7 separate regions of the Homo sapiens genome follow, and all the other regions are linked to region 5. The links are contacts of gene promoters, found by promoter capture Hi-C in blood cells and fetal thymus (Javierre and others, 2016). All regions are on one chromosome and are shown on one strand. Each heading gives the region's core, a stretch centred on a gene start or on the middle of the fragment in contact. The rest is flanking DNA. Distances are from core to core; before and after follow the strand shown.

The links. The method cuts DNA at HindIII sites, captures the fragments that hold promoters and counts their contacts. A CHiCAGO score of 5 or more calls a contact.
Region 1: a contact is called between a fragment that was not itself captured here and the fragment with the promoter of EFNB2 in region 5, in 15 of 17 cell types (total B cells, M2 macrophages, M0 macrophages and 12 more). The highest score is 34.6, in total B cells.
Region 2: a fragment that was not itself captured here is called in contact with the fragment with the promoter of EFNB2 in region 5 in 2 of 17 cell types (total B cells and naive B cells); the score reaches 7.2 in total B cells.
Region 3: a contact is called between a fragment that was not itself captured here and the fragment with the promoter of EFNB2 in region 5, in 1 of 17 cell types (total B cells). The highest score is 7.3, in total B cells.
Region 4: a contact is called between a fragment that was not itself captured here and the fragment with the promoter of EFNB2 in region 5, in 10 of 17 cell types (naive B cells, total B cells, naive CD4 T cells and 7 more). The highest score is 20.7, in naive B cells.
Region 6: a contact is called between a fragment that was not itself captured here and the fragment with the promoter of EFNB2 in region 5, in 1 of 17 cell types (naive B cells). The highest score is 6.8, in naive B cells.
Region 7: a contact is called between a fragment that was not itself captured here and the fragment with the promoter of EFNB2 in region 5, in 1 of 17 cell types (naive B cells). The highest score is 7.0, in naive B cells.

What each region holds. Positions count from the first base shown.
Region 1 is chr13:102,910,712-102,913,411 of GRCh38, reverse strand. No RefSeq gene overlaps it. Among named protein-coding and RNA genes, the nearest start is that of ERCC5, 66 kb to the right of the region's middle. The HindIII fragment of the contact is 1,264 bases long and covers 751-2,014 here.
Region 2 is chr13:103,136,258-103,139,095 of GRCh38, reverse strand. No RefSeq gene overlaps it. Among named protein-coding and RNA genes, the nearest start is that of SLC10A2, 71 kb to the right of the region's middle. The HindIII fragment of the contact is 6,015 bases long and covers 1-2,838 here.
Region 3 is chr13:102,960,637-102,963,460 of GRCh38, reverse strand. No RefSeq gene overlaps it. Among named protein-coding and RNA genes, the nearest start is that of SLC10A2, 100 kb to the left of the region's middle. The HindIII fragment of the contact is 586 bases long and covers 988-1,573 here.
Region 4 is chr13:102,927,579-102,930,293 of GRCh38, reverse strand. No RefSeq gene overlaps it. Among named protein-coding and RNA genes, the nearest start is that of ERCC5, 83 kb to the right of the region's middle. The HindIII fragment of the contact is 1,773 bases long and covers 457-2,229 here.
Region 5 is chr13:106,534,289-106,537,195 of GRCh38, reverse strand. It overlaps EFNB2 (ephrin B2), which reads left to right and starts at 1,534. Exons shown (of 5, transcript NM_004093.4): 1 at 1,534-2,353. The coding sequence starts at 2,232. RefSeq lists an enhancer at 437-506 and a silencer at 1,087-1,746. The HindIII fragment of the contact is 2,990 bases long and covers 117-2,907 here.
Region 6 is chr13:103,197,886-103,200,590 of GRCh38, reverse strand. No RefSeq gene overlaps it. Among named protein-coding and RNA genes, the nearest start is that of SLC10A2, 130 kb to the right of the region's middle. The HindIII fragment of the contact is 3,739 bases long and covers 1-2,705 here.
Region 7 is chr13:102,984,925-102,987,836 of GRCh38, reverse strand. No RefSeq gene overlaps it. Among named protein-coding and RNA genes, the nearest start is that of SLC10A2, 80 kb to the left of the region's middle. The HindIII fragment of the contact is 4,155 bases long and covers 1-2,912 here.

The DNA of each region.
Region 1 (2,700 bases), core at 133-2,632, 3.6 Mb after region 5:
GCTCAATGGATGCTCTTTTCTGGAGACCTAGAGCAAAATGAAAAATATATGACATTAGCCAGAAAAGTGACACACTTTCATTTATTCAATTGACAAACATTTATTGACACCTGTGACATGCCAGGCCCAATGCAAGGCAATTGTACACAAAATGAAAAACATAGACTCTGCCTCATAAAGTTTAGTTTAGTTGAAAAGGCAGAGATCAGAACACATAAAGAAAGACAAAGAGATGTGAAATAGCCATCCTAGACTACATCATGGAGAGTACAGAGCAGGAGGCTGCCTGCTCTGGGAATTTATAGAGGAGGAACATTTGAGCTGGGTCTTTGTAGATAAGCAGGGAACCGAAATGGGAAAGAGATGGGTATTCCAGGCTCAGAGAGTGATGGCAAAGCAGAGAATGGCTCTGATGAAGAATGGGCTTGAGGGAGAGGAAGTCACTAAGCATCATGTTGATAGGGAAATGGGATGGGGTGGAGAAGAAAGGAGGTAGAGAGGGTGGAAGGAGAAGGAAAGAAAAAGGATGGAGACTAAGAGAGCTTGGCCTGTGATCGTTTGGCCAAGGGCCTGCGTTCTACCTGGAATACAGGTTTGGACTCTAACCTAAGGCAACAGGGCACCACAAACAAGTTTTAACCAGGACAGTGGCAAGCTCAGATTGTCTAGGAAGACAATGTAATTAACCTGGTCCACAAAGCAGTGTCCCTTTCGTTCCCCATTCATTCCTTGAGTGTGCTTCTGGAAGCTTTGCCTAAATGAATGTTTCCAAATGATACTAAAAGACTTTAAAAAAAGTTAAAAAGACAGTGTATGGAAGTTGTTGGTCAAGGGATGAAAAATTTCAGTTAGGAGGAATAAGTTCAAGAGATCTATTGTACAACATGGTGACTGTAGCTAATAGTGTATTGTATCCTTGAAAATTGCTGAGAGAGTAGATTTTAAGTGTTCTCATCACAATAATTTGATAAGTATGTGCGGGAATGCATATGTTAATTATCTTGATTTAGCTGTTCCACAAGTATACATATTTCAAAACATGCTATACATGATAAACATATACTTTGTCAATTAAATATATGTATATATATAATTTTTTTAATAACACTGTGAGAAATGGGTTGGAGCAGAAGAAAAATAAAGTCAGGAGACTGTTTGATAGCTATTGTAAGGGCAAAGTTTAGGAGGTAAAATTGATAACCCTTGATGATGAAATAATTCAAAAGCTAAAAGGAAACATGGACTTGATAATAATGGAGGTGTTTCCAGCCAGGACATCTGAGTGGTTGAAATGCTTCTTGAAAGACTAGAACCTCTACTTTTAACTCCAGAAAAGAGACACTTGGCCATCAAAATAGTCTCAAAATTGTCATCACTATGTTGAACTATTGTATCTTAAAGGCAGGAACAAATGGCATGTTTCCGATCTGTGTCAGAAAATAGCAAAAAATACTTTAATACAGAGGAGCCTCACAGAGATCAAGGAAACTATGACCTTAAAATATTATCATTTCTCAAAGGTCTAGTTTGTGTTTTCGGTGCCTTTGGTGAACGAGAAAGCAAAGGCTACCTTGGAATTAAGGATGAAAAATCATTTCAGTGATAAAGCTCCACATTCATTCACTCCTAACTTCCAGGTTTTAAATGCAATCTTGATTTTATCTCACCTAAGAACAAGAGTGTGCATTTGGTTTTCTTATTAAAGTTTGACTCAAAAAGCTGTGCAACTACTCAAGGTCCAGAGACAAAGAACAATGATGGAAAGGTGAAGCACATTTCACAGGAATGTGAGATGGCAGGTCTGAGCTAGCAGCGGCCCCTCCCTCCGCCTCGGCCTTGCAGATATTTGCCTCCTCTGCCGCAGGCCTCGGGGATCCAGGCCTGTACATTATTCATTTTGCCTTTGGCACCTGGAGCACACCTTTCAACCGCATGGACAGATGGATGGACATAGCTATGCTAGTAGTCACTTCCCCACTGCAAAATGCACCTGAAAACCACATCTTCCCAAGCTTTCCCTCAGGCATTTTAAATACTCAAAACCTGGTAAATTTTTCAATTTTACACCAAAGTGAACAAGTACCCTACTGTGCAGGAGTTTTACTCAACTCCAAAAGGAGAAAGTATTTTTTAAAAGTTATAAGCAGCTTAAATACGGTTTTGCACAATAAGCTGTTTCATTTGGCTTTTTATCTGTATCAAAACTAGACAGTAAAATGTTTACTGCTTCCTAACTAGATCTGGCAAAGGTTTTATTCTATGTCCTTACTTTGTATTTTCTCTCAGAAATCTCAGGAAATTAAGGATAAAATGAGTATTAACAATGTTTATGTTACAAATGTAAACACAGGAAAGTCAAGAAGCCTTTTAAACATTCCTGGTTTTTTTCTTTTTTTTTTTTTTTTGAGACAGGGTCCTATTCTGTCACCCAGGCTGCTATGCAGTGGCATGATCATAGCTCACTGTTGCCTCGACCTCCTGGGCTCAAGCCATCCTCCCGCCTCAGCCTCCCAATAGTTGGGACTACAGGCATGCACCACCACATGCAGCTAATATTTTAAAATTTTTTGTGAAGACAGGGTCTCCCTGTGTTGCCCAGGCTGGTCCTGAAGCTCCTCGGCTCAGGTGATCCTCCCATGTTGTCCTCCTAGATTGCTGGGATTACAGACGTGAGCAACCGTGCTGGCCTAGGAAGCATTT
Region 2 (2,838 bases), core at 331-2,830, 3.4 Mb after region 5:
AGACTGCCAATGAGCCCCCACTGGACCCTCTTCCACAGCTGTGGTATTCGACTTTCCACATGTACCTAATTCAGTTGACCACTCCTTCCTTCTTGGAGCTCTTTCTTCTATTGGTTTCTGCAACACTCTCATTATTCCACTTACCTAAGGCTCCTTCTCAGCTTCCCTTGGTTGATTTCTCCTTCCCTCTTCCTCTGATCTCACATTGATATTTAATATGAATTTCACACTCAAATCGCAAATCAGAGTTTGTCATTTCACCTCAAATCCTCACTGGGTCTTCCCCATTTCAGTAAATGGCACCACCATCCGTTCACACAGTTAAAGTCAAAAGCCTGGGAATCTTCCTTACCACCCCCTCCGTTTTCTTCACTCCCTGCCTGCAATCCATCAGCAAATCCCATCAGTGCTACTTCTGAAATATACACGGACCTCACCCACTTCTCCCATTTCCACTGTTTCCTGTCTGGTCTAAGGGCCATCCTAGTAGTCTGGACATCCCCAGCCACCTGCCAAGCCTCTCTGCCACTGCTTTTACATCCTGTGATCCAGAGTAATCTTTTACTCTTTTCCAAGTGATGTCAGTACCCTGAATAAAACTCTCCAATGGCTTCCCACCTCACACAGAATAAAATCCAGCTCCACGTCAGGGTCCCATACCCAGCCTCCTCTCCTCCTCCAGGTTTTCCAGAATTCCCTGGACTCACCATGCTTCACTTTTCACATAAGCCCTTCTGTTCTTGAAGTCACAAGGCACATTCCAGCCTCAGGACCCTTGCACATGCAACCCCTCTTGCTGGAACACCAGTCTTCACAGGCTTGGCTTCTCTTTCCATTCAGGTCTCTACTTAAAGGTCACCATTAATTAACAGCTTTCCTAACCACTTTGCCTCAGGTAGAACCGGTCGCCCTCAGCTGTAAGTTGGGTCTCTATCACACCATCCCATTTTCTTCGTATCCCTTTTTGCTATCTGAAATTAACCTTTTTAAAATTTATGTTTTATATTGTTGTGTGTTTTCCTAAACTAAAATATAAACTCAATGAAACCAGGTACCTGGTCTCTTTTAGTCACTTCTGGGTGCCCCCCAGTGCCTGGTATAATGAAGTGTTTAATAAATAATAAATCAATGATAAACCAGGGATAAATGCTGTCTGACTATGATTTGGGGATTCTTGATACATTGAAACAACATTTATAGAGGTAAGAGATTTTGCCCTTAAATTCTGAAACCCTCGTAACCTGGCTAAGGCATATAAAGACCTCTGATTTAAAATTTTAGTTGATCCAGTCTATCATTGTTGGACATTTGGATTAAGCAAATGTGGCACATATACACCATGGAATACTATGCAGCCATAAAAAATGATGAGTTCATGTCCTTTGTAGGGACATGGATGAAATTGGAAATCATCATTCTCAGTAAACTATCGCAAGAACAAAAAACCAAACACCGCATATTCTCACTCACAGGTGGGTATTGAACAATGAGAACACATGGACACAGGAAGGGGAACATCACACTCTGGGGACTGTTGTGGGGTGGGGGGACGGGGGAGGGATAGCTTCAGGAGATATACCTAATGCTAAATGACGAGTTAATGGGTGCAGCACACCAGCATGGCACATGTATACACATGTAACTAACCTGCACATTGTGCACATGTACCCTAAAACTTAAAGTATAATAATAATAAAAGAAAAAAAAAGAAAAATATCCCAATAAAAAAAAATAAATAAAATTGTAGTTGAACTTGCAGGCTGAAGAATTTGGTTTGACATGAAATCTATACAAGGGTGTGTAAACACATTTACATATGATCTCTCCCAGTGACGTTAAATCATTCTTACAAATTTTAAGCACTATTGGCTATTGTTTTGTCATGGAGGGGGTTCATAAAGAACATTAAAAATAGAGTCTAATTTCTCTTTTAAACTAGAAAAAACAAATTTGTGGAAATCACCCAAATATAATACTTCAGCGGGAGACAAGAACACAGGAAAGTTTTAAAACTTGCAATTGCCCACAAGTAAGCACCTAAGAGGCTATTAGCTGCCACCTGGTATCACAACCTCAGTAAGTTTCCAGGCCCACACACTGAGAAACAAAAGGCATTCCGGAGATGTGGCCTCGATCAGAAGAGGTGAGAACAGTTCTTAGTCTTAGCAAGGTGGTCATGGTCATTAGACCAGTATCCTGACCACACCAAGGCTTCCTAAATTCCGGAGATCCCCGGGTTGGTTTGCAAGACCCTCCCTGCCTATGTTTCCATGGAGATTAGGGCTCTTAGGTTAGAATAAGAGGGACTGAGCACTTGCCCCAGGGGAACAAGTTGCAGATACCAGGTGGGGTGGTGACAAGGCTTGCGGGGATGCTATGAGCTTTACAGAGGAAAGAGACTGGCGGCCATCACTCAGGCCTCCAGCAAGAAAGAAAGGGGAGCGTGGGGAGCCAATCTGGGGCTAACAAGCAGTATAAACTCCATTTGCCGTAAAAAGGAGTGTGTGGTTTGTCCACGCTGCTGCACCAGGGTCAAGGCTGTGTTGAGCAGGAGCACAGAAGCACAGTTAGGAGTGTGGGCGGCTAAGCGCTCAGTGCCTGGACAGATGGCTTTAGGGCTCCACGCTGCTGCCCCTCCCTCATGGCTGCAGATTTCAGGGAGTTGTGTGACCTTTCACCGCTCAGCTTTCTCCTCTGTAAATACACGTGCACACCTGTGGTCACTATTTTCTCTTAGGGTTGCTGGAAAAATTAATATTAATAATCCCATTGTAAAAAAGTAATAGAAGACAGCTGTTATTAACAAAAGAGATTAAATTGTAGCTTGTGTGTCTGCTT
Region 3 (2,824 bases), core at 31-2,530, 3.6 Mb after region 5:
AGCCTGGGCAATGTCGTGACACCCCATCTTAATAAAAATATTTTTTTAAAAACATGACACTTCAGGTTCTGATATCTGCCTGTAATATTAAAAGGAATGAGAGTTTGAAAACTCGATGGAACCTAAACAATATTTTCATCTCCAGCCTCGCGTTTTGCAGGTAAACTCATTGAGATCTAGAGAGATAAGTGATTTACTCAAGGTCACAATTCAATGATGAGTAGAATCGAGACAAGAATACAGGTTTCTGACCAGCACTCCTCAAAACCATCAAGGTAATCAAGGACAAGGAAAGTCTAAGAAGCCGTCAGAGATCGCAGAAGGCTAAGGAGTCATGATAACTAAATGTAAGTGGTGTTCTGGATGGGGTCCAGGAATGGAGAAAGGACATTTGGGAGAAACTGATGGAATCAGAATATAGTATTGAGCTTCATTAAGAATAATGTACCTATGCTTGTTTCTTACTTGTGACAAATGTATCATGGTGATATAGGATGATTACAATGGGGGACATTGGATGAGAGATATAAGGGAATTCTCCATACCATTGTTACAACTTTTCTGTATGTCCAAAGCTATTTTAAAATAAAAAGCTGATTTAAAACAAAAAGTTCTACTTCTAAATTTCAAAAAAAAAAATACCGTTTTCAAGAATTCTTTCCATCAAAGCATGTTGTCCCTCTTCTAAGATAGTTGAATGAGACTTCCATTCCACAAACTAAAAACTGTCATTCAGTCTCTGTTCATAATAGCCATGCTATTAATATTTGGAATAGCTCCTCCTCCTGCCTGCCTTCATCAAGTAAAAGTAAAGAAATTAGTCAGATTAACCCTCAATAAGCAAATGTACAGCTTTCAATACCTGCAGCAGATATTTTAAGCAACTGTTGCCACATATGTTTCCATTTGAGAGATACAATGGAGGGAAAGTATATCCCACCCTTAGACGGTGGGAACAAGAGTATCAAAGGGAAATGGAGACAAGCTTGTGCACATCTACCTTTTCAACTTTTCAAACATGTATTAAGAACCTGCTATGTGTCAGAACTCTGCCCTCACTTCAAGTATACTAAATCCTTAAATGTAAATGGCTCAGACTCTCAAAAGGGTGACCTCGAGTCTTCTAACAGTGCCCATGAAATTTAATAATTGGGAGGCTAACACCAAATCTCATTTATTGCTGCTTTAAATGAAATAGATCACCATTAATAAAAAGCCTGCAAATTTAAGTAACCCAGCAGTCTTAACTAGCAATTAAAATGACTCTTTTTTTTTTTCAATAAAAGGTGAAACCATATGCTACAGCAGATTTTTTGTCACGTACGAGATAAATGAGCAGTTTGGCTCAGCGGGGAATAATTCCAGTTCATATTGAAGGATCAGTTTCAGTATCAAAATTTCATTCTCTCAATGTCAGGATCCTTGATACCAATTACCTGAAAACACTTGGGCTCAAGAGCCATCCCTGTGAAAACATAAGCACAAGGTACATGCCCTCCTCATCCCTCCCCACACATCCCAATAGAGAGGGGAGAACTGAGAGTCCAGCATTATCAGGGTTGTATTCAAAGCTTAAATTCCAACAAAACCTAACTGTGTCTCGCCCTCCTCACCAGGATTTGTGGGAGTATCCAACCCTGTAACAAACGTATGCAGGGACCAGGAAGCCGACTGGAGAGAAATGTGCATGGCCTCATCTGATCCAAATCGGTGTCATAAGAACATGTTGGAAGAAATCAGATTGGTCCTGGGAAGTGCCAGTCATCTTTTAGGTGGAAAAGGATAGAAGCTCATGAAGCTGGACATAATGTACACGTGATATTAACCCGAGAGCATTCAATACCTTGCAAGCTCAGCTGTTTGGAACACTTCTTCCCAAGTTCTTTGACGTCCCTCAATGTCTTCACCTAAGTAGGTGGAAAGGGGAGTGAGTGGAGATACTGGTAGTGGCATACTTGATGGGAAGACAGAAAATCATTACTGATATCAAAAGACAGAAAAACAAGGTAGAAAGAAAGATAAATGCACTAGGTAGGTAGGTAGGAAGGTAGGTAGGTAGGTAGGTGGGTAGGTAGGTAGGTAGATGGATGGATTGACTGACTGATATGATTTGGCTCTGTGTCCCCGCCCAAATCTCATGTCGAATTGTAATCCCCAGCTTTGGAGGTGGGGCCTGGTGGGAGGTGATTGGATCATGGGGGTGGATTTCCCCTGAGTGCTGTTCTTGTGATAGTGAGTTATCATGAGATCTAGTTGTTTAAAAGTGTGTGGAATCTCCCTGCCCCACTTCCTCCTGCCCCTGCCATGTAAGAACTGCCTGCTTCCCCTTTCCCTTCTACCATGAGTGTAAGTTTCCTGAGGCCTCCCTAGAAGTAGATGCTGCCATGCTTCCTGCACAACCTGCAGAACCGTGAGCCAATTAAATTTCTTTTCCTTATAAATTACCCAATCTCAGGTATTTCTTCACAGCAGTGTGAGAACGGATAGATAGATAGACAGACAGATAGATAGATAGATTTATGCACTATATTTATATCTAAATGGCAGTAGGTGTGGGGTACACAGACGGATGGACCAGTGAATGATCAGAAGGAAAAAAGTGGCAAAGACACACTTTGTAGATAACTACTTTGCTCTGGTCACTGAAGTTTGAGCTTCCTAGGCATTATCTCATGTAATCCATGTGTAATGGGCATGGCTATTTTGCCAATTTTGTATATAAACTGTTGACACATTATCAGAGTTAGAGTTAAAACCCTTGGGTTTTCCACTACCCTACACTGCTTCTCATTTAAGGTCACAGTAAAAATCTGAAGATGCTCTA
Region 4 (2,715 bases), core at 94-2,593, 3.6 Mb after region 5:
GTGGCAGGGGCCTGTAGTCCCAGCTACTCGGGAGGCTGAGGCAGGAGAATGGCATGAACCCAGGAGGCGGAGCTTGCAGCGAGCCAAGATCGCGCCACTGCACTCCGGCCTGAGCAATGGAGCGAGACTCCGTCTCAAAATAAAAAAAAAAAAAGAGTGGAAAAGGTAGGATTTGAGCAGTTGTGTTTAAAAATTCACATCAATGGAGAAGAGTGAAGAGGTGTTCTAGATGGATGATAGTAGTATGGACAAATCCTGAAGACAGGAACTGCATGTGTCTTCAAGAAACAGCCAGTACACTTGCTTCAGAGTCAAGGGTTTGCTTTGGGAAGAATGAGGTAGGTTGGGGCCAGATAGTCAAGATCCTTGAATGTCAGCCTAAGGGGTTTGCAATTTATTAACAATAAGAAGTCATTAAAGGCCTTTGATACAATGAAAATTACATTTCAGGAAGCTTTATTTGAAAGTGAAGAAGAGATCTATATGGGCAGGATGAGCTGTGCAAACTGGAAAATGAGAAGTCTATGTTCCTGGGCCAAACCTCTCCCTTTGGTGCCATATGGTGACTTGGTCTCAGAAGGGGAAATCCAAGCAAAGGGAAAAGGAAGAAAACCGCCCTCCACCGATCTCCTCCTCTCCCCACCTCCCAGGGCTAATCCAACCACATCCCCGAGAACAAGCATTCCCCGGAGAAGCCCAAGTCCACAAGGAGGTCGGGCTTTGTGCCCGTCTCCTTCACTTGCATTCCCCCTCTTGTTCACCTACTGAAGAAGCACAGCTAGATGAAGAAACGCCTTTCCTTTTAAGGGAAGTGGTTTCTCCTTAACTGATGAGAGCCCTTTAAGACCAGTAAGTCTCTACCTGGAGTAGGGCCAATTTAATATATCTGAATTGCCCTAGATAAAATGTCTCATCTGCAGAGATCCTTATCAAAGCCAGTAATTTCTCTGTGTATTCTTCATAGTATGTCCAGCCCTATTGAAATTTTCTCCCACCTGTTGTCAACTTTTAAGTTCAGAATTCCGCCTAGCACCAGATCAGACTTGCCAGTCTCATTCCAAGCACAGCTCACCCAGTCCTTTTTCCAGCTGAACCTGTCTACCTGTGCTGACCTCAGCTTGCTTGATCTTCGCTTGTCTCTAGCAGTGCTGTATCCAGTGGCCACTGTGTTTCTGACTCACATTCTCATAGGGATATTGCCCCCTAAGGAAGCTGGAGAGGGGGTTACAGCCGGTCACCAGGTGGTGAGGGTCTGAAACACATGAGAACAATGGAAGAAAAAAGGAGGCACTAAATAAAACAGGCCTGATTTCTGCTGCTGTGTCATAGCAAAAGGGCTGCATGGCCAAGTCACTCCAGAAAACAACACAGTACACAGATCATTCCCATGGTGTCCTGAGATAGTCAGAAATGAGTCTGTGAAATTGAACCTTAAAATGTCTTTATGGCACTGGTCCTAAAGCCTAGAAACTGATAGTAATTATTTACACAGGCAAAGAGATGGAATGAAAAACAGACTTCTTTGCCTCTCTTCTTTCAAAGTGATTAACATTGGGTCACTGAAGAAAAACTCAGAATACTGGCTCTCAAGAATTCTTCATGACCAACTCCAGGTTCCATCTTGTTTATTTCCTGGGATATATATTTGAAAGTTCTGTATCATCATCTATTTTATAAAATATTGACATGCTAAATGAAGATGAGAGAAGGCAAAAAACAGAAACATGGGAATGTTAGTGGAATGCAATAAAAGATAACATAGGTACTGAGGTCATTTGTCCTTTCAACCCCATATTTAAAATACTACCACATAAAAATAAGATCTCTACAAGCACACTCAACCAAAAGTCTGGAGGCCAAGGTGGGCAGGTAACGAGGTCAGGAGTTCCAGACCAGTCTTGCCAACATAGTGAAACCCCATCTCCACTAAAAATACAAAAAATTAGCCAGGTGTGGTGGTGTGCACTTGTAATCCTAGCTACTCAGGAGGCTGAGGCAGGAGAATCGCGTGAACCCAGGAGGCAGAGGTTGCAGTGAGCTGAGATCGCGCCACTGGACTCCAGCCCAGGCAACAGTGCAAGACTCTGTCTCAAAAAAACAAAGAAACAAAAAGTCCTGAAAACAGAGACGTGTTTGATAGTCATATACAAGGATATGTAATGGAAGGTCTGAGTTCTTTTAGCAAACATTAACTAAGCATGTTTCACATTTCTGAGACTTACTAAAGCTTAAGGAGACTAAGATTTTTTAAATTTTTTCAACAATAGTAACAATTCAAGAAACAAGTGCGATAGACACAAAATGCTATGGGAACACACAGGAATGATACCTGATGTAGAAACAGAGACAGAGAAGAAAGATTTCCTAGGGCAGTGACCTCAAGTTGGGATGTTGAGGAGGAGGAGGAATGAACCCTGCAGGAAGCCCAGTGCTGCAGGAGGAAATTAAACACATGCAAAGCTCCTCACTGAGATGAGCAGGACACACAGGGAGCTGTACACAGTTCCAATGAGGGTTCCAGGGTTCAAGGAAGGGAGTGATAAGAGGAGAATCGAGAATACAAAGGCAAGGGCCAGATAACAGAAGACTTTGTGTGCCACGTTAAGGATTTCGGATTTCATCTGGAAGGCAAGGGGAAGCTGTTCAGGGGTTTTCCGAGGGAACTGACATTATCAGATTTGTGGGTGAGAACCCTCACCTTGGTGTCCCATCTGG
Region 5 (2,907 bases), core at 285-2,784:
AATGAAAATAAATTATGAAACTTTTCTGCTCTCAAAGATCTGTTTGGAAGAGTAAGTGTATTCAGTACTTTGTATGCCTTAATGTGTTTTCTATCTTAAACTAGTCTTCACAAGCTTTTACCACTCCAACTGAGATGTATACGTTAAGTTAGACTAATGTTTCAAAAACGGATACTTAAAAGCAACGTACCATAAAAATCTTCAGAAATTGTTACAAAGAAGAGTGAAAGAAAACAAGGTGTTTTACCATATGCATTTTTAAATTTAGCGTAGTGGATACTTTGTTTTAAAAATACATAATTTGTAGAATTACTGCCCAGTTTGTGTTTGAAACATAAATCCTGGGGTGGACGGCATTAAATTGAAAAAAAACGTGGGCATACAGTATATTTTAATTTTTCATACTGAATCGTACATTTGCACTGTGCCTTATTTCTACCGTGTTCTTCCTACTGTTGGACATATAAAAAGATTTTCCTTGGAACTGTGACTTGATTAGATGCTGCAGTATGCTGGATCCGGGTCGGTGGACCGCAGAGCGCTCGAGATGCGGAGAAGCAAAGCTGGCCGCTAGTGGGCGCTGTGGCTCCGTGGAAGTCACGGACGAGCGTCAGCACCGGCGCTCGACCGGGAAAGTAGCGAGGAGTTCCTGCCAGCTCTGCTCTGGGGTCTTGCAGACGCCGAGTGAGAAGCACATGCCTTGACTTTTCCATCTCACACCCTCTAAATCTCTGGTCACTTTGGGAAGCGCGCGTGTCTCCTAGAGGCTAGTGAGACGGTCCCCGCGTCGTGCCTGTGCCGGCGACACGCGGGGAAAGCTCCAGGGGCGCCACCTTCCCGGGGGGCCAGGAGGGAAGGGAGACGCCCGCAGAGAAGGCGGGAGGCGACGATGCTCAGGCCCTGATTAGAGCTGCAAATTCCGGCGCCGCGTCGCAGGAATCGTCTTGCAATTCCCGGCCCCACTGACTGAAACTGAGCCGTAGGCGATTGGTACCAAAATCAAGTGAGAAGCCCTCGCCGAGAGGCGTCGGGAGAAGCGCGCAGAAGCCGGGAGCTCTAAGGGTGCGCGCGGAGTGCAAGTCTTGCACGCGGGGCAGCGCCGCATCTGCGGAGAAGGGACGCCGAGCGGAGCCTGCTGCCTTCCGCACTGCTCGAGGGAAAGCCGCGCCCTCTGATTCCGCCGAGGGGGAAGGCGCCCCCGGGCGCGGAGACAGGTGGCCCGCTACTCGGCCGTCGCTGTTTCCACGTCTGCACCGCGCCCAGAAGGCCTCTCGCCGCCCCGGGGGCGCCCTGTGCACGCGCTGAGCGCTTCTCCTGCCCGGCTTCTGCTCCGCTCCCGCCGCCCGCGGGAGCCAGGGGCGGGGCTCACCTGTCAGCCCGAGCCCCGCCTCGCGGCACCCAATGTCGGGAGGGGATGGCGGACGGACGGACCGGCCGTCCAACCAGCGCGCGGCCGCGGAGCCGCGGGCCAATGGGCTTCGCGCGGCGGGGCGGGGCCCCGCGTTTATAGCGCTCTGACAGCGCGGCGGCCGCGCTGACTCTCCTCGGCGGGGACCGCGGCGCCGGCCGGAGCGAGGAGCTGCGCACGCAGCGGGTCCCGGCGCCCTCCCCGCACACAAAGGCCCGCGCGCGTCCGGAGCCCGCGGCGGGGACCGAGCTCCCTCTTTCCTGCCCTGGGGGCCGGGAGCCGCGCGGACTGAGAAGGCTCCTGCGCGCCCGGAGGCGCCCTACTCCGCTCCGTGCTCCGGGACATGGAACCGCGCCGACGCGGCGCCCGCGCGCTCGGGCCGCTGCCCGCTGCACTGGATCTATAGTCACAGGCGGCCCCGCTCGGGGCGCAGCGCCCGCCGCCCGCGCCGGTCGTCTCCGCTCCGGGTCTTTGTGTCCCAGCCCGCACCCGCCCCGCGCCCACCCGCCAGCCGCGGCCGGCCCGGCACCCTGGAGCCGCACGGGAGTCGGCCGTCCGAGCTGCGTCCGGCGCGGCGCCCCGGAACCCCGAGTCCGCCGCGCCGCCGCGCCCCGCGCGTGCGCTCCCGCCCCGCGCCCTGAGGGCCCCGGAGAGCGAGCGCACCTGGCCCGGCGACCGCTGGAGCTGCGCAGCGCGCCTCGGAGCTGCCTGCGGGCGCACGCCGTCTTCCCCGCCAGTCTGCCCCGGAGGATTGGGGGTCCCAGCCTGCGTCCCGTCAGTCCCTTCTTGGCCCGGAGTGCGCGGAGCTGGGAGTGGCTTCGCCATGGCTGTGAGAAGGGACTCCGTGTGGAAGTACTGCTGGGGTGTTTTGATGGTTTTATGCAGAACTGCGATTTCCAAATCGATAGTTTTAGAGCCTATCTATTGGAATTCCTCGAACTCCAAGTAAGTGGCGTCCGCGATCCCCCTATGTCCCCGCCCCGGGGTCCGCCGCGCCGTCCGGGCGGGAGGAGGGGTCAGTCCGCGGGGCCTCGGAGCCTGTTTCTGGAACCTCGGTTCCCCGTCCCCCACCCCCAACCCCCGCCCCATTTCACTAGGTGGAGACTCCTCGCTCGGCTTTCCAACCCGAGCCCCGCTGGAACGGACGGTCTCTCCGCCTTTCCTCCCCCGAACGCTCCCAGGCGCTAAAAGCTACTATCGGCTCGGGTGTCAAGTCCGGGAAGGTGTCCGATGGCGATACCTGACCCTCTCCTGTTTTCGAGGACGAAGGACATGGCCACAATCTAGGCTGGCCGGCACGCGGGGACTGGTGGGCTCTGGAGAGAGGCGGAGATGCTGCATTCGCGGGGAGCGCGGGCGGCGTGGTCCGGGGCCCGCGGGCGGGCGACCGGGGTGGCAGGACGCTGGCAGCGAAGCGCGTTCTGGAGAGGGGAGCCTGGAGTCGCTACGCTGCCCGCAGAGCCCTGGAGCCGGGGCGCCTTGGCACCGCGCCGCCAGCC
Region 6 (2,705 bases), core at 199-2,698, 3.3 Mb after region 5:
CCAAGGTAATCCCAAGGATCCTTAAAAGTGGAATAGAAAGGCAGATAAAGAGAGTCTGAAGATGTGGCAAGGGAAACAGAAATGTTATCTTGCTAACTTTGAAGATGGAGCAAAAAGCCATGAACCAAGAAATGTGGGTGACCTCCAAAAGCTGAAAAAAGCAAAGAAACAAATTCTCCCCAACTCCCCAGAGGGAATGCAGCCCTGCCCACACATTAGTTTTAGCTCAGTAAGATTCCTACTGGCCTTCTAGCCTGCTGGAAGATAATAAAGTTGTACTCTCTTGAGCTACCCTACTGTGTTTGTAGTAACTTGTTACTGCAGCAATATAAAACTAATACACCCTGTATCCAAGTAAAACTGCATTATGATTCCACTTAATATGAGATCTGAAGAGATTGCTCTAGCTACTGTTGGTGATTAAAACCATAAGCATTCAAAGTAGACAAACACTAATTCATATCCTAATGTGGGCCATTTAATGGTGTGAAGAGTAAATTATTTACTCTCCAACCCTCAACTTCATCATCCATTAAATAAAGTGAGAATCTACCTCATAGATTGTTGTGAGGATTTAAAAAATTAAGTTTTCCAGTCCAGTAAAAATGTGTTTCACACTCATACATGCCAAAATATTTGATAACGGGAAGTTACGCAACAATTTAAAATACTAGTTAGAGCTTCTATTACATGTTGGAGCTATAACAATGAACAAGGCAGACACCTAAAAATAACCATCTGGCAGTAATATCCTATGATAAGCCCTTGATGAGAGTACACAAAGCTCTGTTACCACATAGAGGGGACTTTGGCTGGATTTAGGGGTCAGATAACCCTTCTTAGTGGAAGTAAATTCTAAATGGAGGCCTAAACAATAAAGAGAAAGTAGACAAAAATGGGTGGAGGAATAGTGATAGCAACAGGAGACAGACAAATGCCTAGGCAGACAGGGACAGGTCTCTGGTCAAACCCGACCTTCAAGCCAAGGACAGTTTAAAGCCTGAAAACTGAGCTGCCAGTTCTCCATACAGTCCAAAACTGGAGTGAGAACTTCCATCCCTTCTTGCCCACTCTCTCTTGATTGGTTCCCTGTAATGATACCTTTTAACTAATCTAATGGTGCCTTTTCCAAGGCCACCCATGGACCAATCAGCACACACTCCTCCATTCTAAGCCCATAAAAACCCCAGACTCAGCCTCACAGATTGCTACCAGCTTTTGGGTCCCCTCTCAACACTGAGAACTTTCTTTCTGTTGCTTAATAAAATTCTCCTCTGACTTACTCACTCTCTGGTGTCCACATACCTTATTCCTCTTGGTCACAGCACAAGAACCTGGAACTAGCTGAACTATGAAATGAAACAGCTATAGTACTCCTGCTCACGAAGCTGCAGGTGGAGGGAATAAAAGAGCTGTAACACTCCCTCCTGCTCACTGAACAATGAGAGAAGCAGCCACTGGGTGCCACTCCCTCCCGCTTGCCCATCTACAGAGTGAAAAAGCTGCCACAATAGTGGAAGTGCATTTTAGATAGAGAAAGCAATATGATGAAGAGCATGGTAGCTTGGCACTCAAGGGAATTGAAAATAACAATAAAACAGGTGCATTTATGAAGAAAGCAAAGACCAAAACATGAAGTGTCTTTTATTATTATAGCCATGTGGGTTTATTGCAAAGTTTTAAGTGAAGAACAGATACTGATCATATTTGTATTCTAGAAAGAGCATTCTAGCCACAGGTTAAAAAACAAATTTGAAAACCTAGAAGGATGTAAAGGCAATAGAAACCAATTGGGAAACTGTTGTTACAATGCAAACAAACTACTTACTATTATTACTTTTGTCATCAAGCATATAAGAAACAGGAATGAATATGAAAGAATAAAATGAGATGAGCACATAAAAGCAAATCCACCTACATGTGTTTTATCTCAAAAAATCATTGTGCAGCTGCACAGAATAACAAGTGTAGAGAGACAAGAAGAGTCTATCTACCATTTACAGGCAAGGGAGCAGGGCAGGATGAAGGGCACGGTGTGGTACAGGGCAAGATCTCAGACCCGACAAAAGATGAGACCATCCTGGTTAATTGTAAACTCTAAGTCTTACATTACTGAGTTCTCCCAGGAGAATTCTAATGGAAAGTAGACAACTACTGGGTCTCAACAAGGTTACCTGTTCTTCCATAAGGCTCATCTAGGTCATCAGCTTACTCCAGTCTCTGTCATCTTTGTAATATCATTCAACTTAAGCCAAGGCTTGGAGAGGCAAAGCCTATTAATGCTGTATGTGTATGTGGTAGGTAGAATGATGCTCCTATCCCCTGCAAGATGCTCATCATCTAATCCCTGGAACCTGTGAATGTGTTAGATTACATGAATAAGGAATTAGGACTACAGATTGAATTACGGTTGCTAATCAGATGATTAGATGCAGGATGTGATTGATCACAAAAACATTCCTGGAGAAATTTTGGCCTCATAGGAGACAGAGCCATCTTAGGAAATATCACTCACTCAAACCCACAAATACCTCAAAACCCTGCCTTATTCTGAGCCAATGTGGAAGAGTGAAGGCTCTGTCTCACTGGGCCTCTCTTCACACACAGTAACCTAAGACCTAGTGGGAAAATGATTGTGATGGATGAAGGATCCAGGAGAGGCAATAGAAGCTATGCATGTCCAAGTGCCCAGAAGAATGGGAGCA
Region 7 (2,912 bases), core at 45-2,544, 3.5 Mb after region 5:
AGAAGTCTGCTGCAGGGGCAGAGCCCTCATAGAGAACCTCTGCTAGGGCAGTGGGGAAAAGAAATGTAGGATTGGAGTCCCCTAACAGAGTCCCCACTGGGGCACTGCCTAGAGGAGTTGTGAGAAGAGGGCCACTGTCCTCCAGACTCCAGTATGGAAGATCCTCCAAGAGCTTGCACCATGCACCTGGAAAAGCCAAAGACACTCAACACTAGCCAATGAAAGCAGCCAGGAGGGAGGCTGTACCCTGCAAAGCCACAGGGGCAGAGCTTTCCAAGGTCACGGGAGCCCCCCTCTTGCATCAGCGTGACCTGGATGTGAGTCATGGAGTCAAAGGAGATCATTTTGGAACTTTAAGGTTTAATGACTGCCCTATTGGATTTTGGATTTGCATCAGACCTGTAGCCCCTTTGTTTTGGCCAATTTCTCCCATCTGGAAAGGGTGTATTTACCCAATGCCTGTACCACCATTGTATCTAGGAAGTAACTAACTTCCTTTTGATTTTACAGGCTCATAGGCAGAAGGGACCTGTCTTGTCTCAGCTGAGATTTTGGACTTGGACTTTGGGTTAATGCTAGAATAAGCTAAGACTTTGGGGGACCGTTGGAAAGGCATGATTGTGTTTTGAAATGTGAGGGCATGAGATTTGGGAGGGGCCAGGGACGGTATGATATGGTTTGGCTGTGTGCCCACTCAAATCTCATCTTGAATTATAGTTCCCATAATCCCCACATGTGGTAGGAGGCAACTGGTGGGAGATAAATGAATCATGGAGGCAGTTTCCCTCATGCTATACTCATGATAGTAAGCTCTCAGAAGATTTGATGGCTTTATAAGGGACTTCCCCCTTCATTCATCTTTCATTCTTTTCCTTCCTGCCAAGTGAAGAAGGATGTGTTTGCTTCCTCTTCTGCCATGACTGTAAGTTTCCTGAGGCCTCCCCCGCCCTGCACAACTGTCAGTCAATTAAACCTCTTTCCTTTATAAATTACTCAGTCTCAGGCAGTTCTTTACAGCAGTGTGAGAGCAGACTAACACACTTAGCCAAAGGCAAATACAAGCAGAGAAACTCAGATGGAGAGTAGACCAAGACACCCGCTAAATTTCAAAGTCTCTTACAATCTTTTATACAACCTTATGAGACTCTTATGGCAAAAATATTACTTAAACATTGAATATGTCCAAAGGAAATTTACTTGTTGTTGAACATTTTCCCAAGGTTTTCTCAATATTAAAAAATGCCCATTGTGGTAGGTTGGATAAAGAAAATGTGGTACATACACACCATGGAATACTATGCAGCCATTAAAAAAGAATGAGATCATGTTCTTTGCAGGAACACAGTTGGAGATGGAGGCCATTAACCTTAGCAAACTAACGTAGGAACATAAAATCAAATACTGCATGTTCTCACTTAAAAGTAGAAGCTATATGATGAGAACACATGGACGTATACAGGAGAAGAGTACACAATGAGGCCTATTGGAGAGTAGAGGATGGAAGCTGGGAAGAGGGAAAGGATCAGGAAATATAACTGTTGGGTACTAGCCTTAGTACCTGGGTAATGAAATAATCTGCATAACAAATCCTCGTAACATGAGTTTACCTATACAACAAACCTACACATGTACCCCTAAACCTAAAATAAAAATTTTTTTTTTAAATTATTCTTCCAATCTCTGGAAATTGATTCAGTTCTAACCTTGCCCCAGAAATATAAATCTAGCTAAGAATAGGGCTTGACAATATGGTTTCTTGAAAAGTACTCCTCTACGTGGTAACTTACAACACCAGAAATCTAATGCAGGGCTTCTGTGTGCCAGGGAAGCTGCCACAGTATCGCATCAACATCACACTGAGTCATCGTCCGCAGTGATGGATGCACATAATCATAGTGCTCTTACAAAGACTATCTAATTTAATGCTGATGGAGTCACTGTATTGAGCAGTGAGATCTCTCCACTCAAAACATCTATGCTTGTTAAGTTTCACTAATGAATAATTTCGGACTGGACTAGGGAGGGTCCAGTCTTTCAGCACAGAAAGACTAAACTGCCTGACCTTCCCTAATCCAGCATTTGCCCCTGGATTAAAGGTGAACATCTGCTTTGGAAAATCAGAGCCTATTTCTCCTTAAGGGAGGCAAACCAAAGTTCCAGTTTAGAGTGTAAACTGGGATTGTCTCTGTTGGGCTGGGCGTAAACAATGAACCAGGGCTCTGATGCAGCAAAGCCCCCACTTGGGGACTTCACCAGATAACTGTCAGTTGGCAGGACGACGGTCAGAGGAACCTAGCTTAGTGCAAGCCTGGACTTGAAAGCCTGGACTTGAAAGTGATGGTGAGGTCAAGAATCGAGACCATCCTGGCCAACATGGTGAAAGCCTGTCTGCATTAAAAATACAAAAATTAGCCGGGTGTGGTGGCATGTGCCTACAGTCCCAGCTACTCAGGAAGCTGAGGCAGGAGAATCGCTTGAAGCTGGGAGGCGGAGTGAGCCGAGATCCCGCCGCTGCACTCCAGCCTGGCGACAGAGTAAGGCTCTGTCTCAAAAAAAAAAAAAAAAAAATGTGGGCCGCGCGGCGTGGTGGCTCACGCCTGTAATCCCAGCACTTTGGGAGGCCCAGGCAGGCGGATCACGAGGTCAGGAGATGGTAGCCATCCTGGCTAACATGGTGAAACCCCACGCCACTGCACTCCAGCCTGGTCGACAGAGCAAGACTCCATCTCAAAAAAAAAAAAAAAAAAAACTTGAAGTGATGGAATAGATATATTAAAGCACTGCCAACTTTCCTATATATGTATGATGGCAATAAAACACACTAATTATGACAATTATCATTTTGTATTCATCAGATATAGTTCAGGTTTTGTTTACAAATGAAAACTGATCAGTGATCTGAAATTCTTCAT